Linked DNA regions of Homo sapiens: regions 2, 3, 4, 5, 6 and 7 are each linked to region 1. The links are contacts of gene promoters, found by promoter capture Hi-C in human tissues and cell types (Jung and others, 2019). All regions are on one chromosome and are shown on one strand. The core of a region is centred on a gene start or on the middle of the fragment in contact, and the rest is flanking DNA. Distances in the headings are between cores, read along the strand shown.

Region 1 (2,940 bases), core at 172-2,671:
TGCAACTTCATCATTCTGCAAATCAGCAAGACTCACTTCAAACACACGACCCTTGAGACCATCAGATGCAATTTCTACAAAAGAAAAAAACAAGTATCTTAACATTTAGGAACCATATAAGCAAAGTCAAGCCTGTAAACTGAGGGTAGAAATTAAGTTAATGGTAAATTATAAAGACCTTAACCTTTGTTATCAAATCTATCCAGACACCAGTGACTTATCAACAGTACTTATTTGAAGCTCAGAACTACCCATGGCACATTTTCTTAATTCAAAAAGCACCATCTTGCTTCTCTCCAAGTGCTGTACTAAAAATGATCACCACAGGTGCCAAGGCTGCAACCAAGAGCTGACATTTCCTTAAAGTCTCCCACCACAGGACCAACAACAGACCAAGATGCCTGCTACAATATACAAGCGCCAACTTAAGGAAAATACAAACCAAGAATAAGCTACTTACTGGTTCCTTGGGTCCTGGTGACGAGCGTCTTTCCAATATTTCTTATATTGAACATAGCAGGTGCTTTCACATCATACCAATCTTTCTTAGAAAATGGATCAACCCTGGATTTTAAGAAGATGCTTAAGTTCCATTGCAGATCAATTCTTACTGTATTTTTCACTGTTAATGGTATTTCCCATTAATATTTTAAAAAGCTAACCGGCAATTTGATACCAAAGTATATCTCACAGTGAGGTGAGGGGAACAAACATAAATCTAGCTCTTCCCACTGTACGTTTCACTGCATGCATCAGACTTTGAAAGGTTATGTCCACTTCCCACCCTCATCGGTCCATCCACTACACAGGCACTTAGAATAACATGCATCGGTCCTTCCACTACACAGGCACGAGTAACATGCAATCTCATTAACTTTGCTGGCACGTAATGGCATGTACTGGTAACTAAGAGACTGCATGGCCCCAAAGCTTAGCAGGAGCTCGCAGATTCCAGCGGGACCAAGCAAAGGCGAGATTGACGGGTCCTGAATGGATAGAAGGGTGCTTTCCTCAACTCCTGCTGTCGCAGTGCCATCAAACACTCGCAGAATTGAGGCAGCTCGTGAGCCCACAAAACTAACATTCCAGCCGAGTCGCGCCGGCAAGCCGGCTCAAACGCGACGCGCGCAAGGACCAGAAGGCCTGGGAAAGGCAGCCGACCTGCCGCTACTCAACACCGACCCTCCAGGCCGCGTTCCTGGGTGCACCAACCCGCCACGGCCCGCACAATCCGACTGGAATCCTCGCCATCCGGCCTACGCCGCGATCTAGGACCAGCCCGCCGATTCCAGCAGACCCCCAAAAAGCAAGACGCCACGACAGTCGCGACTTACACTTTCTTCTTGGCTCCCTTTTTGCCGCCTTTCGTAAGGCGCTTGTTCTTGCCAACCGCCATGGTGCTGGTCAGAGAGCCAAAAGGGCGGAAGTGGGAGTCGCGCGAGAACTTAGGCGTACGGGGGCGGGGCGCGCCGTCTACGTGACCTTTGCCCTGTTATTCTTCCGGCCTCAAGAATTCCGGGACAGTAGAGAGCGCCACTCTTTCTACTGTGGTTGCGACATCGCCATCGTGTGTGGGGAGGCCGCGCGGCATGCCGCGGGCTCACTGGAGGCTGCGCTGTGTAGACCAAGGCGTCGGTGGCCTGACGTGCAGGCGTCTGGTTACCTGTGGTTTCTGTGGCTGTGACGTCGGGAAGTAAGTTTCTGTAAAACGAGACGCCCACTCAACATCGTTCAAAGCTGAACTCACCGTCTAACCCCCAAACCTGCTTTTTGAGAGCATTGGCTTTGGAGTCAGTCAGCGGATCTGATTCAAATGCCGGTTTCAACAGGGCTTTGCTTGAGACCGACCTCTCCACGCTTGTTTCCTCATGCGTAATATGGGGGTGATAAAACGGTCGGCTTCATGAGGTTTCATAGGGCTAAATGAGCATCACTCCAGAGATGCTAGCGACGTTCTGCTTGTTGATGTGGATGCTGGTTCATCTCAGGTGTTGTTGCTTTGTGAACATTCACTAAGCTCTACGCTTATTTGTGTCCTTTTCTATATGTCTGTTATATATTGATTAAAAGGTTTTTTTAAAATAGAGTGAGACCGAACTCGTTGGCTCACACCTGTAATCCCAGCACTTTAAGAGGCTGAGGCAGGGGAATCAACTGAAGCCAGGAATTGGAGACTAGCCTGGGCCACACAGCCAGACCCCGTCTTTACAAGAAAATGATAAAATTAGCAGGGCGTTGGCCGGGCGCGGTGGCTCACGCCTGTAATCCCAGCACTTTGGGAGGCTGAGGCGGGCGGATCGCCTGAGCTCAGGAGTTCGAGACCAGCCTGGCCAACATAGTGAAACCCCGTCTCTACTAAACATACAAAAAATTAGCCGGGTGGGTGCCTGTAATCCCAGCTACTCGGGAGGCTGAGGCACGAGAATCTGAGCTCAGGAGGCGGAAGTTGCAGTGAGCCGAGATCGCGCCATTGCCTGGCCAACAAGAGTGAAACTGCGTCAAAAAAAAAAAAGTGAGATCTCCAAATGTTTCCATTTTTGCAACTAATCCAAACCCGCCTCCCCCATTTTTTTTAACTGTAGGGGTTAACAGAGCACATCCTGGCAAGGTGTGGCTGGCTAGCTCAAGTGTGCAGCCCTCGGAAAGCATCTGGCCCATACAGGCTTGGTACTCAGCCAGTGGTGTGTTGAGTTCCCTTCTCTAACTTCCCCTCTGGCAGAAAACCCTGTGACCAAGCCAAAACCAACCCTTACTTACAAGGCCCCCTGCAAGCTTTTAAACTTACAATCCCTTCCAGTCCTGCTAGCCTCCATCCCCTACCTCCCACTACACCCACCCCCCAAGACAACCTTCCTAAACCTCTAGTAGGGTCCTGAAATCTTTCAGTAATTCCATAAATCTCAGTTGCCTGGAGGATAAATTCAAAGTCTTAGTTTCATA
Region 2 (2,940 bases), core at 251-2,750, 1.3 Mb before region 1:
CTGGCTAATTTTTTTGTATTTTTTAGTAGAGACGGGGTTTCACTGGGTTAGCCAGGATGTCTCAATCTCCTGACCTCGTGATCGGCCCGCCTCAGCCTCCCGAAGTGCTGGGATTACAGGCCTGAGCCACCGTGGACTTCTTTAAATAACCATAGTACAGGCAGTTACTTTTGTTATATAACAGTATAGTTGTCTCTGAAGAAAACCTGAAGCTCTGCAAAATCGGGCCCTGAAAATCGGTTTCTGAGTGGCTTGTTCCTGTGTAAACTTGTAATCTCTGTAGTAACGAAACCAGTACCCATTCTAATAAAAATATTATATAGCTAAATATTTACCCCAGTTAGTTCTAAGTTCTAGGATTTATGCTTTCTCCTTTGAAATGTAGGTCCTCGAGAACATTCATTTCTACTTATGATGAAATTGTGAAAACTAGTAAATCTGATCCAGGGTGTAGTTTTTATCAGTTGCCTCTCACCCCTTAAAAAAAAAAATTAACGTGGGAAAAATATTGTCATGGATTTTCTATCTGTACTCACAGCTTGACCAGATGGTTTTAACATTGTGGAATGCCTAGCAGTTTAAAGCCATTAACTAGCCTCTGGTTACCCTCTTCTGGATTTCTAGTTTTTTTCTTAAGGTCATCATGTATTGCTTAAGCTCTGTCTTTGTGAGAAAGCTTGTCCCTGCTGGCTTTAAAACTTTACTATGCTGGGGAAAATTTTGGACTAAAGTGACATTCACATTATACTGACCTCATCGCCCAAATGATGAATGAATGAACTAATGTACACTACAAGAACATGTCTTAATAGGAAAGTAGACTGTTGTCTGTAGTTGTCCCATTGTTTTATCATTGCTGCTACTATATTGACATGAAGTAGCAGTGGGTGTGCATGTTTGTATATTTTTTCTGTGCTGTTAAATAAGTCCACGCACATCTCCCATGTGGGTAGGGTAGTACTGGGTGATGGAGTAGGTTTACCAGTACCATTTGTCCCTTACTTTACTTGTATAGCTTTATGTTTTAAAATAGAGTGTTTTTGTTTTTTTGAGACAGAGTCTCAGTCTGTCACCCAGGCTCGAGTGCAGTGATGTAATCTCGGCTCACTGCAACTTTTGCCTCTGGGGTTCAAGTGATTCTCGTTCCTCAGCCTCCTGAGTAGCTGAGATTACAGGTGTGTGCCACTCCTGGCTAATTTTTATGTTTTTAGTAGAGACAGTGTTTCACCATGTTGGCCAAGTTGGTCTCGAACTCCTGACCTCAAGTGATCCACCTGGCTTGGCCTCCCAAAGTGCTGAGATTACAGGCATGAGCCACCGTGCCTGGCCACTTTTTGTTAGAATTAATACTTTGAAGATACCATGGATTTGGTTCTAGACCACTACAATTAAGCAAATATCATAATAAAGTTAGTCACAAGAATTTATTGTTTCCCCAGTGCATATAAAGTTATATTTACATGGCATTGTAGCCTATTAAGTATGCAATAGCATTCTGTCTAAAAAGTGTGCATACCTTAACTAAAAAATACTTTACTATTTATTTATTTATTGAGACAGTCTTGCTCTGTTGCCCAGGCTGGAGTGCAGTGGTATGGTATTGGCTCGCTGTAACCTCCGCCTCTCAGGTTCAAGCGATTCTCTTGCCTCTGCCTTCCAAGTAGCTGGGATTACAGGCACCCGCCACCACACCCGGCTAATTTTATATTTTTAGTAGAGACCGGGTTTCACCATGTTGGCCAGGCTGGTCTTGAACTCCTGACCTCAAGTGATCTGCCCACCTCTGCCTCCCAAAGTGCTGAGATTACAAGCGTGAGCCATCGCGCCTGGCTAAAAAATACTTGATTGCTAAAAAATGCTAACAATCACCTGAGCCTTCAGGGAGTCACGATCATTTTACTGCTGTAGTCTTGCCTCAGTGTTGATGGCTGCTGACTGATAGAGTGATGTTGCTGAGGGTTGGAATGGCTGTGTCAGTTTCTTAAAATAACAATGAAGTTTGCTGCATTGATTGACTCTTCCTGTCATGAACGATTTCTCTGTAGCGTGTGATGCTGTTTGATAGCATTTTATGCAGAGTAGAACTTCTTTCAAAACTGGAGGCAATCCTTTCAAATCCTGCCGCTGGTTTATCAATTAAGTGTATGCAGTATTCTAAATTGTTTAACTTTGTCTCAGGAAACTACTTTCCTTGCTCATTCAGAAGAAACAACACCTTATCCATTCAAGTTTTATTATGAGATTGCAACAGTTTAGTCACATTGTCAAACTCCAGTTCTAATTCTAGTTCTCTTGCTATTTCTACGCGCCTGCAGTGACTTCCGCCACTGAATTTTTTTTTTTTTTGAGATGGAGTCTGGCTCTGTCTCCCAGGCTGGAGTGCAGTGGCACGATCTCAGTCAGCTCACTGCAACTTGCGCCTGCCGGGTTCAAGTGATTCTTCTGCCTCAGCCTCCTGAGTAGCCCTCCACTGAAGTCTTGAACCCCTCAAAGTCATCCACGAGGGTTGGAATCAACTTCTTCCAAACTCCTGTTGATGTTGATATTTTGACCTCCTTCTGTGAAACACAGATATTCTTAATGGTATCTGGAGTGCAGTTATCCTTCTCAAAAGGTTTTCAATTTACTTTGCCCAGATCCATCAGAGGATTCACTATGTATATATATAAAACAGCTAATGTATTTCTAAAACAAGACTGGAAAGTAGAAATGACCCTTGATTAATGGGCTGCAGAATGGGTATTGTATTATTAGGCATGAAAACAACATGAATCTCCATGTACATCTCCATCAGAGCTCTTGGGTGACCAGGTTCGTTGTCATTGAGCAATGAGTAATATTTGAAAGGAATCTTTCATTCTGAGCAGTAGGTCTCAACAGTGGGCTTAAAATGTCTAGTAAAGTCTTGCAATAAATGGATGTGCTGCCATCTAGGCTCTG
Region 3 (2,940 bases), core at 113-2,612, 1.2 Mb before region 1:
AACCAAACACGGCATCTTCTCACTTACAAGTGGGAGCTGAACAATGAGAATACATGGACACAGGGAGAGGAAAAACACACACTGGGGCCTGCAGGTGCAGGGGGAGGGAGAGCATCCGGAAAATTAGCTAATGCATGCTGGCTTAATACCTAAGTGATGGGTTAATAGGTACAGCAAACCACCATAGCACACGTCTACCTATGTAACAAACTTGCATATCCTACACATGTGTCATGGAACTTAAAATTAAATTAAAAAATAAGAGATGGAAAAAAATGAGGCTGTCAAAGAACATTTCATGATGTGGGAAAATATTGTATATTCTGTTAAGTGAAGCATGCAGATTACAGAAGAGAGGATTTGGTAAAATCCAAATTTGATGTATGCAATTTTATGCAAATATATGCATAGGAAAAACTAGTAGTGTGTTACTCTAAAATGTTAATAATGGTTATTTCTGGATGGTAGGATTACAGGTGGCTTTTGTTTTTCTTTTGTGCCTTTCCGTATCTTCAAAAAACACTTCTTATGATGATTGTATATCTATTCTAGTAATAAGAAAAAAAGTCGATAAATGTGATTGAGAGAGAACGGAGGCCTCTGTGTCTGACCCGCCAGAGGGAAGGGCTTTGCGGAGGGCTGCACTTGGGCCTTCTGTGGCCAGGCCCGCTCTTTGCCCTGAGCACCAGCAGCTATGTCTGGGGGGTCAGCCAGGATGACTACATTCAAGTCTGAGGTGACCTGGGCTCTCAGAGGACTTGTGTGCTCCTGGAAGAAGCATTTCACACTCCCTGAGCTTGGCGCCGCCCACCCCACTATTAATAGTGTTTCAGTGTCTCCAATGGGTCTGCACATTCTGGTCCTAGAGGTGACCTCAGATGCTGCCCAAATAGCCCGCTGGTTTTCTAATGGAGGCTTGAGGGGGAGGTCATTATTGGGCTTGTGGATGTTCTAGATAAGCTTTTCTGACCAAATGAACTCCCATCATCACCTTGCCTTTCCTCCCACAACTCCCATCTCATCTTCCATCCCCAGGAACATCACAAGAAAGGGAATTAGAGAAGTTGTACCCCAAGGGGCACAATGCTGATCGTTGTGTAGGAGATGACTGTGTCAATGAAGAGAGTCCACCTCAGAGAAGGACATTTCCCCTTCTGCAGTATTTCTCCAAGTTCAGCCTTTCAACTATTTGCCCCAGACTTCCCGGCATGAAAATGCAGATCCCTGGGCCCCGCCCTAGGCCTAACAAAAGCGAAATCTCTGGGAGTGGACTCTAAAACTGGAGAGCCACTTCCCCACGAACTGGGAAAGGCAAAGAAAGACTGTCCATGTGTTTGGACTATGCAGCATGCAGAGGGTCACCTCTGAACTGAACCGCTCCACTTTAGTGCCCTCGAATCTAAACCAAACTCTGCCATTTGTTGAGTGTCTCCTGTGTGCTAGACACACCCCAATTGCTTTATAGTCTTTATCACAAATCAGCCTCATGATCATCACCCTCCCAGGAAGTTTTTAGCTACTTCAGGAAACTGAGAGTAAGACGTTTCCTTAGAACTCACGTAAGAGTCCTTTCAGATAAACTTGGTGACTGTCAATTATCTCCTGTTCCCTTTCTCCTCTGGCTTTCTCTCTTCTCTCCCTCCCACACCTAAATTTAATTGACTTCCCTTGACCCCGACAGATAAAAGGGGTCTCTGAGGAGAGACTCCCGAGGTGCCCCACGCTGCTGGCCCTGCAGGTCCTGTCTCCTAGGTGCCTTCGCTAAGTGTTTCTCTCAGAGCTCTCACAAGTCAGAGGTCCCATAGTGCATGGCACAGCATGGATTCAGCACAGGGTGGGCTTGCCCTCTACCTGGGCCCTGCGGGAGGGGAGCCCCCAGGCTGCCAAGGCTCTATCTTGCTGCCCGCTTTCAGAACTTACTGCCTCTTACCACCACAACTAACTAGGCTGCCTATGTCAGAGATGGCTGGTGCCCCCTCCCCAGTTGACTGCCTAGCAAAGATGATATATTCTGAGCTCCCTTGAAGCTAGGCTTAGTCCTGTGGGTAAATTCTGGCCACAGGAATGGAAATGATGCATGCGATTTCAGGGCCATGCCTTTCTTCTATTCTGCTCCTGTGGAGTGGATGTGGTGGTGAGCCCTGTGGACCATGGGGGCAAAGTCCTCATCCTAAGAATGACAGAACAACAAGATGGAAGGAGCCTAGAGCCCTGGCGACTTTGCAGAGGAGGGCTGCAGGCAGTGTAGACTTTGGCAGGAGAGAAACAAACATGGATCTGGTTGAAGCCAACTGTGGATTTGGGGTCTCCTTGTTGGAATAAATCACACTGATACCTGAACAAGTGCACTGAGCCTATTAAAACTCTCTCCCAGGAACCTGGAATTACTACTCTGGAGCTCACTGTGGGGGACCAAAAGTTGTTACCACAGTCAGAGACCTGGCCAGCCCAGATAGAAACCTGAGGAAGCAGGGGAAGCTCTTGGTGGAAAGATGAGTGTGAAGTGTGTGGTGAGAAAGATGCAGAGAAGGGACAGCAGGCAGAGGGTGGCTGTCACCATTTTCAATGCCATTCCGGCCCCAGCATGGTTCCTGTAGGGCCTAGATGTGTATCTTGCTGTTGCATGTCATAAATTGCCCTCTGTTCTTTATATTTGAGTTACTGTGACTGAGTTTTTCTTTCTGGCAACCAGGTAAGTTGCAATTAAAATAAAGTGCCCTTTATGACTATATTATATATTATATTACTATGTATTATTGTTATGTCACTATAAACTATATTATTATAGTTCTTTGGGTTTCAGATGTGTATTTTTCTCTACATTTTAATATTTCTGAAAATGGGATGATGCACTTTTTTTTTTTTTGAAGACAGAGTCTCACTCTGTCACCCATGTGTGGTAGCATGATCACAGCTCACTGCAGCCTCCACCTCTTAGGG
Region 4 (2,940 bases), core at 155-2,654, 1.1 Mb after region 1:
TCCCTGGATCTTTGCTAATATTTTGCTAAGAATTGCATCTATGTTCGTGAGGGATATTAGTTATTTATTTGCAAAGTGTTAGTCTGATTTTGGTGTCGGGGTAGTTTAGATTTTCCCTTTACTGTTGTATGAGCTTTGGCAGTTTGTATCTTTTAGGGATTTGCCTGTCTCATCTAAGTTGTTGAATTGTTGGCATAAATTGCTTGCAGTATTCCCTAATTATTTGTTTAATATTTATAGAATATTTCTGATACTGAATACTTGTGTTTTCTCTTTTTCTTGACAAGTCTAGCTAGAAATTTATCAATTTTCATTGATTTGTTTCAAAGAACTGTCATCTTTTTGGTTTCATTACTTTTTAAAGTTGCTTTTGGCTCTTCTATTTCAATGATTTCTACTGTTACTTTCATTATTCTGCTTACTTCGAACTTAATTTGTTTCTCTTTTTCTAGTGTCTTAAGATGGAATGAGAGATTTAATTTTAGGCTTTCCTACTACTTTCTTTATTTTCTAATTCTGTATAAGCATCTAAAGCTGTAACTTTCCCTTCAAGTATTACTTTAGTTACATATCACAAATCTTGATATATTGTGTTTTCAGTTTTATTCAGTTAAAAATGTTTTCTAATTTCCCTTGTAATTTCTTCTTTGGTACATTAGTGATTTACAACTATGTTCTTTAATTTTCAAATATTTGGGGATTTTTAAAAATATCATTTTGTTTTTGATTTCAAATTTGATTCCCTCGTATTCAGAAAATTTACTCGGCATAATTTCCTTTGAAATCTATTGAGACTTGTTTTATGGCCTAATGTAGTCTATTTTGTGAGTATTCTATGTGCACTTTAAAGGAGTGTCTATTCTGTGGGTTTTAGATATAGTGGTCTACAAATACCAATTAGGTCAAGCTGGTTGAAAATGTCATTCAAGTCTATATCTTTACCAATCTTCTGTCTACTGTTTTACCAATTGCTGGGTGAAGTGCGTGTTGATGTCTTCAATGATAAGTTGTGGATTTGCCTATTTCTTCTTTTAGGTCTGTCAGTTTTTGCTTCATGTATTTTGAAGCTCTCCAGTGTAATTTTAATTTTTAATATCATAGTGTATGAGGTTTCACATTTAAGAACTATTTATGTTTCCTTTTCTTTGCACTGTTTATTTTTCCCATTTTTTTCTAGTAGTTGATATTTGCATAAGAAAATTCGCCCTTTGACTGTGATGTTTGTTGTACATATTTTACATACTTTGTCATGTTTACGGTGGCTTTTACCAAGCAGCAGTTTTTGATTATTTGTAATAGAATTTATTTTTAGAGCAGATTTAGATTCACAGCAAAATTGAGTGGAAATTACAGAGATTTCTCATATACTCCCTGCCCCTACACATGTACAGCCTCCCTCACTATCAATATCCCACACCAGAGTGATACATTTTTTACAATTGATGTACCTATATTGTCACATCAGTATCACCCAAATTCCATAATTCACATTAGGATTTACTCTTGGCATTGTTATACGTTCTGTAGATTTTGACAAATGTACAATGACATGTATCCAACATTACAATGTCCTTCAGAATAGCTTCACTGCCCTGGAAATCCTCTGTGTTTTGCCTATTCACCCACCCTCCTGCTCTCTCAGCCCCTCACAACAACTGATCTTTTTACTGTCTCCATAATTTTGCCTTTTCCAGAACATCATATAGTTGGAATCACATAGCTGTAGCCCTTCCAGATTGGCTTCTTTCACTTAATAATATTCATACTAAGTTTGCTCTGTGTTTTGTATTGCTTGATAGCAATATAATTCAATGCTTATTTCGTTTTAGCATTGAATAATATTCCAATATTCTGTTGTCTGATGTGCCATAGTCTACTTATTTATTCACTCACTGAAGGACATCTTAATTGCTTCCAAGTTTTTGGCAATAATGAATAAAGCTGCTATAAACATCCGTGCAAATGCTTTTGTCTGGACATAAGTTTTCAATTCATTTGGGTAAATACCAAGGAGCATGGTTGCTGGATCATATTACAAGAATATGTTTGGTTTTGTATGAGACTGTCAGCCTGTCTTCCAAAGTGGCTGTACCATTTTCCATTCCCACTAGCAGTGGCTGAGAATCCATGTTGTTCCACAACCTTTCCAACACTTGGCATTTTCAATGTTTCAGATTTTGGCCATCCTAATAGCTGTATAGTAGTATATCATTGTTTTAACTTGCAATTCTCTAATGACATATAATGTTGAGTATTTTTTCATATTTGCCATCTGTATGTCTTCTTTGGTGAGATGTCTGTGAAGGTTCTTGGTCTATTTTTTAAATCATGTTGTTTATTTTCTTATTTTTGAGTTTTAAGGATTCTCTGTGTATTTTGGATGACAGTCCCTATCAGATATGATCAGGACATATCAGATATGATCAGGACATATCAGATATGTCCTTTGTAAATATTGTCTCCCAGTCTGTGTCTTGTCTTCTCATTCTTTTGACAGTGTTTTTCACAGAGCAGAAGTTTTAAATTTTAATGAAGTCTAGCTTATCAATTTTTTTTTCATAGACTGTGCCTTTTTTTATTGTATCTAAGAATTCATTGCCATATCTAAGATTACCTAGATTTTTTTCCTATGTTATATTCCAGGAGTTTTATAGTTTCGCATTTTGCATTTAGGTCTACAATCCATTTTGAGTGAATTTTTGTGAAAGGTGTAAGGTCTGTGTCTAGATTCACTTTTTAAAATGTGGATGTCTAGTTGTTCCAACACCATTTTTTGAAAGGAATATCTTTGCTCCATTGAATTGTCTTTGCAACTTTTTGAAGATCAGTTGACCACTTTTATATGGGTCTATTTATTTTTCTTTTTATTTTCTTTTTGAGACAGGGAGTTGCTCTGTTGATCAGGTTGGAGTGCAGTGGTACAATCATGCTCACTGTACA
Region 5 (2,940 bases), core at 168-2,667, 1.1 Mb before region 1:
ATCTCTTGTTTCTTGGTAAACGTTCCTATTTGGGTGTTAGGCTACTGTCTCTCCTGATTTCTCAGAAGGCCAGATCTTAAAGGTAAACAGCTTAGGTTTCAGTTTGGTGATATGGGCCTTAGCATGAGTGACTTCACTTTAGATTGGTTTGTCAGGGTTTAGTGCAGGAGCTCAGTCTAAATCAATGGTCTTCCATAAATTTTATCTCACTGAGAGTGTTTGTGACGTATGTGTTATGTATGAGCACACTCCAAAGCCAAACACAGGTTGGGTCATTCATTCAATAAATGTTTACTAAGCTTCTATTTTGTGCCAGGCACTGCTCTGAAACTTACAGACCAGCAGTGAACAAAACAGATAATTTCTGACTCCATGGAGCTTACATCCTAGTTGGAGAGACAGAAAAAATACTAAATAATTCTTTAAACATTAAGGTAATCCTTCTACTAAGGCAAATAAAGCTGGGAGACAGGTCCAGAGTACGTGGTGGGAGGAATACAATATTAAACAGAGTGGTCAGGAAAGGCCTCACTGACTGCAAAATTGCTTGGGGATAGGCTGCTGTTTTGAAATCTTTCTACCTCTGCTTCTTCTTTGCCTAGTGTACAAATGATGAGGATAAAGTCAGTAGCCCAAAGCCTTGCCGTCAGCAATCTGTATCTCCAATATAAGATAACAATTCCTCTTAAATACCCAAATCACAAAAGTCCAGGCCCCACCTGTCAAATCAGCAGGAAGTTTAGACTTCTCTTGGGTTTTTCTCCCAAAAGATTCCTGAGAATCATGGAATGAGTTAGACTTGTCCATTAATCAGTCCCCTTTTTTGCTACCATCCAGAGAACCAGTTCAAGTCTCTGGAGGCTGGATGTCCGGCCTTCACCCTGGCACAGTGGGCTGTGGGCTCTGCGGTCCAGTTGCTAGTCAGGAGACGTCCTGGTGGCCCCTGATTCGTGTTCACGTTCACATCACTGTTCCTGCGGTTCTCTACACATTCACCTTGGTATTAGCTCTCTTTGCCCCTGGTCCAGCATACCTCTTCAGCTTCCAAGTATGGGTCACCTTCCTTATGTAAATTTCCTCTTGGGACTGTATTTTCTTTTAAATAAAAATTGGCCTTGTCCGAGAACTTACTTCATCAGATATAGTCATGTATCTTTGAATGTCTCCTCCTAACTCTGTAAATTTGTGAATGACGTGGGGGGCACAGCCCAGCTCTGTCTGGTGGCACTGGGGATCCAAACGCAGATGAAGCAGCTCAGGAAGTGGCGATACCTTGCTGCTCCGCCAGCGGGGCCAACACAAAGTGCTGTCAGCTACACGGACACCAGTTTGTTTGTGTTGTGACTCTGAAAGGAAGCCATGGCATTGCTTTCCACAAATTATTACTAAAAAACTGTTCTGTTAATATTTGAAATATTTAAACACAAAAGTACCTACCATTCAGATTTAACAAATTGTTAGCATTTTACCATTTTGCTTAAGACCTTATATTTTTAAAGCAACAGAAACTTGGTATCCTGTGCACTTTGATTCTATGCAGTTAGTGAGCTTGGATAGTGACGGTTCAGACAGGAAGCTTAGAGAGCAATGCACACCATTTTATCAGAATCTGCGTAGGTCTTCAGTTTCAGGTCGTAAGATTTCAGAGAGTGAGGAGATACCATTTCCTCCAAACAATTCTCTTTCAAAAAAAATCACTGGCCTCTATTCAGTTCCTAAGTAGAGAAAAGAGTTCAAATAGTAATAATTATAGGTGTTATAGATATAGTTGGGGCCTTTTGTGTGTTCCTCTCAATTTCATTCTCTGCTCCCTCTCCCGTGGCTGCCATTGTCCTGAAGCTGGTAGGTATCATTTCCGTCCATGTTTCCCACTTTACTATATGTGGATATTTTAATAAACAATACATAGTCTTTTGGTAGGGGTTTAAATATTACTTTAACAGTATTATACTATATGCATCATTCTGCAGTATGTTACTTTGTACTTTAGGTTTGCCTGCTGTTGCATGGATACAGTTTTCTTTTTTAAATTCCTATTTCTTCTTGTAGAATTAAATCTTTTATTTGTTTTAATTTAATTTTATTTTTTTGAGACAGAGTCTCGCTCTGTCGCCAGACTGGAGTGCAGTGGCATGATCTTGGCTCACTGCAACCTCCACCTCCCGGTTTCAAGTGATTCTTCTGCCTCAGCCTCCCGTGTAGCTGGGACTACAGGCGTGTACCGCCACACCCAGCTAATTTTTATATTTTTAGTAGTAACAGCGTTTCACCATGTTGACCAGGATGGTCTCGATCTCTTGACCTTGTGATCCACCCGCCTCGGCCTCCCAAAGTGCTGGGATTACAGGCATGAGCCACCGTGCCCAGCCAGAATTAAATCTTTTATTGAGGGAACATAAAGGTAGCTCTCTGAGTTTTTGCATCTCTTAAAATGTCTCTATTATGCTTTCACTCAAATGATGAAGTAGATGAGTACAGAATTGTAGATTGACAGTTTGTTTCTTTCAACACTGAAAATATTGCTTTCCTGCCATCATGCATTTCTTGATGTTGATGAGAAGCCTGCTGCCATTTCAATTGTCATTACTCTGTAAGTGACCTGCCTTTTTTGTCTGTTAGCTTTTAAGCTTTGCAGCTTCACAACAATGTGACTAGGTGTGAATTTATTTTTAATGATTTTGCTTGACATATAAAGTGTGCATTTTCATGCCGAGAACCCATGTCTTTCTCAATTCTGGAAAATTCTTGAATATTCTTGAATATAATTTTTCTGCCATTTTTTTTTATTTTCTTCTGGACTTCCTGTTAATTGTTAATCAGAACTTCTCAGTCTATTCTTGGTAGGCTCTGATTATCTAGTGCTGTACCACAAACCACACCAAAATGTGACTTAAAACAATAATTTATTGTTATTTCTCATGGTTCCATGGGGTGATTGGA
Region 6 (2,940 bases), core at 281-2,780, 1.0 Mb after region 1:
TGGGGAGCCGAGGGAGGTGGCTCACCTGAGGTCAGGAGTTTGAGACAGCCTGGCCAACACGGTGAAACTCCGTCTCTGCTAAAAATATAAAAATTAGCCGGGTGTGGTGGCGGGCGCCTGTAATCCCAGCTACTCAGTAGGCTGAGGCAGGAAAATCACCTGAACCCAGGAGGCAGAGATTGCAGTTAGCCAAGACCGTGCCACTGCACTCCAGCCTGGGTGACAAGAATGAGACTCTGCCAAAAAAAAAAAAAAAAGAAAAAGAAAAAACCCCACAGTATGAGAGACTTTGTTAAACTCTTGCCAACGTATGTTAAAACTGCCCTCACCAAAACAAAGTGACAGGTGCACTAAAATCTCAGACTTCACCACTAGACAATTCACCCATGTAACCATAAACCACTCGTACCCCAAAAGCTATTGAAATAAAAAATTAACAAAATAAAAATTAGAGTTCAACTAGGACCACGCATATGTATTTTTTTCATAAGTAGATAAAGCAGTCCCAGAACTGGGCTGACTCATAGCTAGACTTCAATGTTATTACAAGCTGGTCTGTCACTCAGAGTCAAGCCATTTTGTTCTTCTGTTAGACATAATCTCACAGACTATATCATACGAAGTCACTCTAAGACTTTATGATAAAGTGACACAAAAACAAGGTCACTGTGCAATCCACAATACCAAACATCCCCCTCTTGCACTAAGTGAGTGACTGCCATTTCTTTACCACCGTAGTTTTTTCCTCAATCTAGTCTGCCCTCCCTATAACTAAGATTTATAGAGGTATCCAATCATAGGATTGTCCTGCCTTCTGACAGCACCCAAGACAGAGTGAGCCCCCGTTTCCTTAGATCCTTCCTAATATTAATCAGCCAGAGCCCAAATGCTATGATAGGTTCTAACACCCTCTTACTAAGACACCACATGGTATCTTATAAGGTGTGTTCTTCTTCATTGGAACAAGTAATAAACCCAACTTGTTCAACTACATGTGTGTGCCCAGTGGTCTTTGGCTAAAGGGAATTTAGATACATATATCCATATTCATTCTCCTTTCCCTGCCTTCTCTCTCTTTCAAGTTCTTTGGCCATAAAACTGTAAAAAATTTAGGGGAAATCATTTTGCAAATCCCGATCATATGAGTACTATATACAAAGAGGGTTTTGGTTTCTGTATAGAAAGAGGAAAAACAGAAGCATAAGGTGGTTATAAAACTTAACTGTTTTCAGGCATGGTAATGGAACAGAAAGCATTCCTTCAATATCCTATAAGACTCTTTCCAGAGGCACAGCTATGGCTTTTTACCTTTGATGTCCATTCAAAGACACTTTGCATTACTGCATATATAGCAGGTTGACTCAGTGTTTACAATTATGTAATACAACTTGGTTGGGTATATGTTTAGAAGGCCGTTAACTTTCATCCTTACTCAACCAAATGAACTGCCTCTTATTCAAGAAGAAAGAGGTCATTAAAAGCTAGGTAATTCCAGCCAGGCACGGTAGCTCATGCCTGTAATCCCAGCATTTTGGGAGGCCAAGGTGGGCAGATCATTTCAGGCCAGGAGTTCCAGGCCAGCCTCACCAACATGGTAAAACCCTGTCTCTACTAAAAAATACAAAAATTAGCCACAAGTGGTGGTGCATGCCTGTAATCCCAGCTACCCGGAGGCTGAAACACTAGAATCGCTTGAACCCAGAAGGCGGAGGTTGCAGTACCACAGCACTCCAGCCTGGGTGACAGAGTGGGCGGGACTCTGTCTCAAAAAAAAAAAAAAAAAGGCTAGAAATTTCCAATTTCTCACTCTCTGCAAACCTTCATTCTTACACATTTATTTCCATCTGTGCCCATTTTTCGCACGTCCTTTTCCTTTCAGTGACAGAGTGCTCTCCTCCTATTCAAAGTTAAATCCCTCTAACAGGACGTGGGTCCTTCTCTCCTCCCATGCTGAGGTTTCAGAGCCATTCTTTCTCTCCTCTCCAGCCCTCTTTATAGGATTATACACAAGTGTGTCCCACCTTAAACACATGAACCGCCCAGCCCCACCCCATTCACTCTACTCTACCTAATGTGCTTTTGGCTTCCATTCACTGCCAGTCCTCATCTGTTTTTCCACTTCATCGCCCACTCTTTGCTTTTAAGCCACTGGAGCATCACTTGTGCTCCCTGGGCTCTGCTAGCTGAAATGTGGCTCGCCCCAGTTCCCAAGTACTTCTTACCTAACTGCCAAATGCAAAGCACATTTTCTGTCTAATTTCACTCAGTGTCTTCAGTGTCTTCTGAGGGCACTGGACACCAGTCCTAATCCTCTTCATGCAAATCCTTTTTTCCCTAGCATCTATGATCTCCCTTACCTTTACCTCACATTTCTTAGGTTGCTCCTTCTCAGTCTGCTTTTCAGGATCCTCTTTCCACACCCACCCAGGCATCCCTCATCCTCCTTAGACTTTCTCTGGGCAGCTGCATCTTTATCCATGGCTTCAACCACCATCTACACTCTGAGGAATCAAACATCGATGACATTTCTGGCCTAGATCTTTCTCGAGTTCAACCCACTAACAGAATATCCCTCTCTAGATATCTATGAATATCTCACATGCTACATATCTAAAACGAATTTCACTCTCCATTACTGCCACCCTGATCTCACACTCTCCTCTTCCTAAAGTCCCCAAAGTATTGAACGGAATAACCACTGTTCAGTCATCTAAGCAAAAACCAAGCTTCCTTCTTCACTGCCCTTCCCCCACATTCAACAAAATTGGCAGAACGGTTGACTTTGGTCTAAACCCCTCTGGAAACCAACTCCTTCTACCCTGCCTTCTCTCGTTTCTTCCCGGATTAGAGTAGTAAAGAGCCCCATGTCTGGGCCTCACCCTCCACACAGCTGTCACAAGTTTTTAAAAAATGTATATTTGATTTTCTTGTCTCTCTACT
Region 7 (2,940 bases), core at 179-2,678, 1.0 Mb before region 1:
CTGTGAGGTCCCTGATATGAGAAGGGCAGTGAGTAGGAGCAGACAGGAGGCTCCAGGAGCAGGCTCCTTACCAATTAGCTCAGGATTTTAGTATGTTGATAACTTAACATGTTTGAGCTATTCGGTTCAACCCCTTTGTCTAATTCTAACTCACTGGGAAATCCCTGGATTGGAATGCAGTTTCCCATATGCTTTGATCTACAGGGAACGAACAGGCATGACTGGCTTACATAATTGTGAGATGACTATATTTTTCAAGGTAAACAGTTTCTGCTTTATCAGTCTCTTAGGAGCCTGGTTACATTGATCAATGTGAATTCACCCCTATGAGAGAAATCCACTCTTAGCTTGCTGACAAAGTCAATTGCCTCAATTACAAAAAAAAAAAAAAAAAAAAGATTCCCGAACTTGCCCCATAGAAGCAAGACAGCCAAGCTTAGAAGCAGCCAGCCCAGCCCTTTTTCAAACTTAGAATCAGTGATCCAAGGGTCCTTTCAGTATTTTTCCACAGGATCTCTGGCTGAATTTCCACAGCATGTGAAAATTCAACTATACACAAGACAGCATGATGCAGCGATTTTCTTTTTTTCTTCTCTCTCTCTCTCTTTTTTTTTTTTTTGCACATTTTATTTTAGTAGCACAACTCTTATTTTCAAATGATCTTACGAAGGACCTCAAGCTGCAGATATTCATGTCTTCACATCAGGCGTCTCTACTTGGGTGTCTGACAGGCACTTAAAATATAAGATGTCCAAAGAGCATTCTGGATGCCCTGCCCCCGCTGCACATGCTCCTCCCTAATGTGCCCTCATCTCTCAGGCCTAACACCTAAAATCATTCTATTCTCAGGTCATCTCTTAGCCTCAAACTCCTGCTTCCAGCTACAAAACATATGTAGAATCCCATCCCTTCCAAGCTAGGGCCCACATAGCTGAAACCTTGTTTTCAGCCAGTATCCCCTCTTACCTGGATGACTGCAACGAACTTATAATAGGTCTTCCCACTTTTATTACTGCTTCCTATACTTCCCTGGATCGGAATGCAGTTTCCCATATGCTTCTACCTACAGGGAAAGAACAGGTATGGCTGGCTTACATAATTGTCAGATGGAGCAACATTTGCTTCACTTAAAATTGTTTTTAGAAGTCTAGACTTTAGAATCTCTACTTGTTAATGACAATATAACAATGACCAATTACTACCATTTTAAACGTATTATTTCTCTATTTAGTGAAATAATACGTTTAAAATGTAGATCAGATGGTGACTTTCACCCTGTTCAAAGTGCTCCAACATCTCCCATCACTCTTAAACTGCAAACTCCTTACCGTGGTCTACCAGGCTCTCTGCCATCTGGTTTCCTGGTAGCCCATTGGCTGAACTGCCAGCTGCTGTCTCCTTGACTCCTGTGGCTCCAGACACACTGGACTTATTGTTGGTTCTCAAATGTGCCAAGCTTGTTCTCTGCTTTGCATTTGCTGTTTCCTCTGCTTAGAACCTCTGGTGCCCTTGACTTTGAATGGCTCACTTCCTCACACCAATCAAGTCTTTGCCTAAAGTCTCTGCCTTTGCTCAGAGAGGCCTTCCCTTGCCACCTCTTTAAAATAGCCTGCCTCACTCCTACTCTCGAGCTCCTCAGTCAGCCCCCACCCAGCACACACCACATTTCATAGTGGATGTTGTTGTGTGCCACTCAGATCCCCTGGCAGAACCGAAAAACGCTTGTCACCTTAGCTGCTGGGAGTGCAGGCTCCACCAACTCACACCTGAGACACTTTCCAAGCATTGCAAAGTGTCAGAGGTGTGTCATTTCCTCTGTCAGAGGAAGCTGCTCCACCCACATGTACACCCACTTCCTGGAGGCAGCTTGCATCCAAAGGCTGGTCACATGGGAGTGCAAATGCCCAGTCCTCCAATCTTAATTAGGACAACACTGCTTGTTGTCCCAAGCTGCAAAGCTCCTCAGGAGGAAGACAGAAAGCAACTTTTCCATCTGTCCGACCTGCGTCCCTCACCCTTCACACTTGTTGCTCCTGAGATCACGCCCCAAAAACCTCCTGCAAATCTCTTTGTCAGAGTCTACTTCCTGCAGAACCTGACCTGTGGGCCTCTACCCCAAATTGTGGGTTTTTAACTTACTTGTTTATTTCCTGTCTCTCCAACAAAGACGTAAGTTCTGTAACAGCAAGGAAAGGTCTATCTTACTCCCCTCTCTATCCTGGCCCAGACGCCTAGACAGTGCCTGGAATACGTGGAAGTTCAATAAATATTGAATGAATAAATGAATGCACCCCCCAATCTATATAATAGATAATAGGGAAACTGTCTTCCTGAAATTGTTTGTGTGTCAGGGGCACTCCTCCCTCTGTCACTCCTCTACCCACCGCTGGAGAAGTACCCAGGGCACCTCAGCAGCACCTTCAGGCAGAGTCAATTTTAGAATCAGGAAAGCAAGATTCATAGCCAGGTTCCATCACTAGCAAGCCCTTCCCAGTATCTCCTGGAGTCAGTATTGGGCCTTGCAGGCTCTTTAGCTTGTTCGACTGCGACAATGAGCGCCACACTCCGCTCCTGGAAAATAAGCTGGGAGAATGGAAAAGCTAATTGAATTGGTTCATCTCTCTGAAGCCAGTGATAAATCTTAGGGGTCTGAAGAAGGCCCTAGGGGATCTAATGCCCCCAGTGAGATCTGGGGTGGGGAAATTGACCTCAGACTCTGAACCTCGAATCAAGAGTGGTTCATTTTTACTACAGAGCCTGGAAGGGAGACTGCTTGGGACCTGCCCTTGGGTGACTCCTGCTGGCCCCTGGGGAGCCAAGTTTTATTCCAGTAGAATGTCCAGGAAGCTGTGCACCCTGGTGACAACTCACTTTCGCCTATGCCTTTAGAGTAAGTCTCCTTCTTGATTTCCAGGATTGGAATTCCCTGGAATGTTCAAT

The links. The method cuts DNA at HindIII sites, captures the fragments that hold promoters and counts their contacts. A contact is called where the count stands out against the background at its distance.
Region 2: a fragment that was not itself captured here is called in contact with the fragment with the promoter of RPS3A in region 1 in 1 of the 25 tissues and cell types used here (spleen).
Region 3: a contact is called between a fragment that was not itself captured here and the fragment with the promoter of RPS3A in region 1, in 1 of the 25 tissues and cell types used here (mesenchymal stem cells).
Region 4: a contact is called between a fragment that was not itself captured here and the fragment with the promoter of RPS3A in region 1, in 1 of the 25 tissues and cell types used here (lymphoblastoid cells).
Region 5: a fragment that was not itself captured here is called in contact with the fragment with the promoter of RPS3A in region 1 in 1 of the 25 tissues and cell types used here (dorsolateral prefrontal cortex).
Region 6: a contact is called between a fragment that was not itself captured here and the fragment with the promoter of RPS3A in region 1, in 1 of the 25 tissues and cell types used here (dorsolateral prefrontal cortex).
Region 7: a contact is called between a fragment that was not itself captured here and the fragment with the promoter of RPS3A in region 1, in 1 of the 25 tissues and cell types used here (dorsolateral prefrontal cortex).

Annotation. Positions count from the first base shown.
Region 1 is chr4:151,098,109-151,101,048 of GRCh38, reverse strand. It overlaps RPS3A (ribosomal protein S3A), which reads right to left and starts at 1,421. Exons shown (of 6, transcript NM_001006.5): 1 at 1,335-1,421; 2 at 461-564; 3 at 1-74. The coding sequence starts at 1,396. RefSeq lists enhancers at 498-1,081, 1,102-1,661, 1,082-1,666, 965-2,164, 2,442-2,511. The HindIII fragment of the contact is 5,511 bases long and covers 1-2,940 here.
Region 2 is chr4:152,436,785-152,439,724 of GRCh38, reverse strand. The region is part of intron 2 of FBXW7 (F-box and WD repeat domain containing 7); the gene reads left to right. Among named protein-coding and RNA genes, the nearest start is that of MIR3140, 51 kb to the left of the region's middle. The HindIII fragment of the contact is 3,770 bases long and covers 1-2,940 here.
Region 3 is chr4:152,280,593-152,283,532 of GRCh38, reverse strand. No RefSeq gene overlaps it. Among named protein-coding and RNA genes, the nearest start is that of FBXW7-AS1, 56 kb to the left of the region's middle. The HindIII fragment of the contact is 3,498 bases long and covers 1-2,940 here.
Region 4 is chr4:149,971,670-149,974,609 of GRCh38, reverse strand. No RefSeq gene overlaps it. Among named protein-coding and RNA genes, the nearest start is that of DCLK2, 110 kb to the left of the region's middle. The HindIII fragment of the contact is 6,557 bases long and covers 1-2,940 here.
Region 5 is chr4:152,220,657-152,223,596 of GRCh38, reverse strand. The region is part of intron 2 of LOC105377490 (a long non-coding RNA gene); the gene reads left to right. Among named protein-coding and RNA genes, the nearest start is that of FBXW7-AS1, 120 kb to the left of the region's middle. The HindIII fragment of the contact is 3,696 bases long and covers 1-2,940 here.
Region 6 is chr4:150,096,016-150,098,955 of GRCh38, reverse strand. The region is part of intron 1 of DCLK2 (doublecortin like kinase 2); the gene reads right to left. Among named protein-coding and RNA genes, the nearest start is that of DCLK2, 19 kb to the right of the region's middle. The HindIII fragment of the contact is 4,883 bases long and covers 1-2,940 here.
Region 7 is chr4:152,099,607-152,102,546 of GRCh38, reverse strand. LINC02273 (long intergenic non-protein coding RNA 2273) reads right to left here and starts at 1,794. Exons shown (of 3, transcript NR_121628.1): 1 at 1,730-1,794; 2 at 967-1,063. RefSeq lists enhancers at 1-841, 1,136-1,636, 1,736-2,030, 1,637-2,137. The HindIII fragment of the contact is 4,185 bases long and covers 1-2,940 here.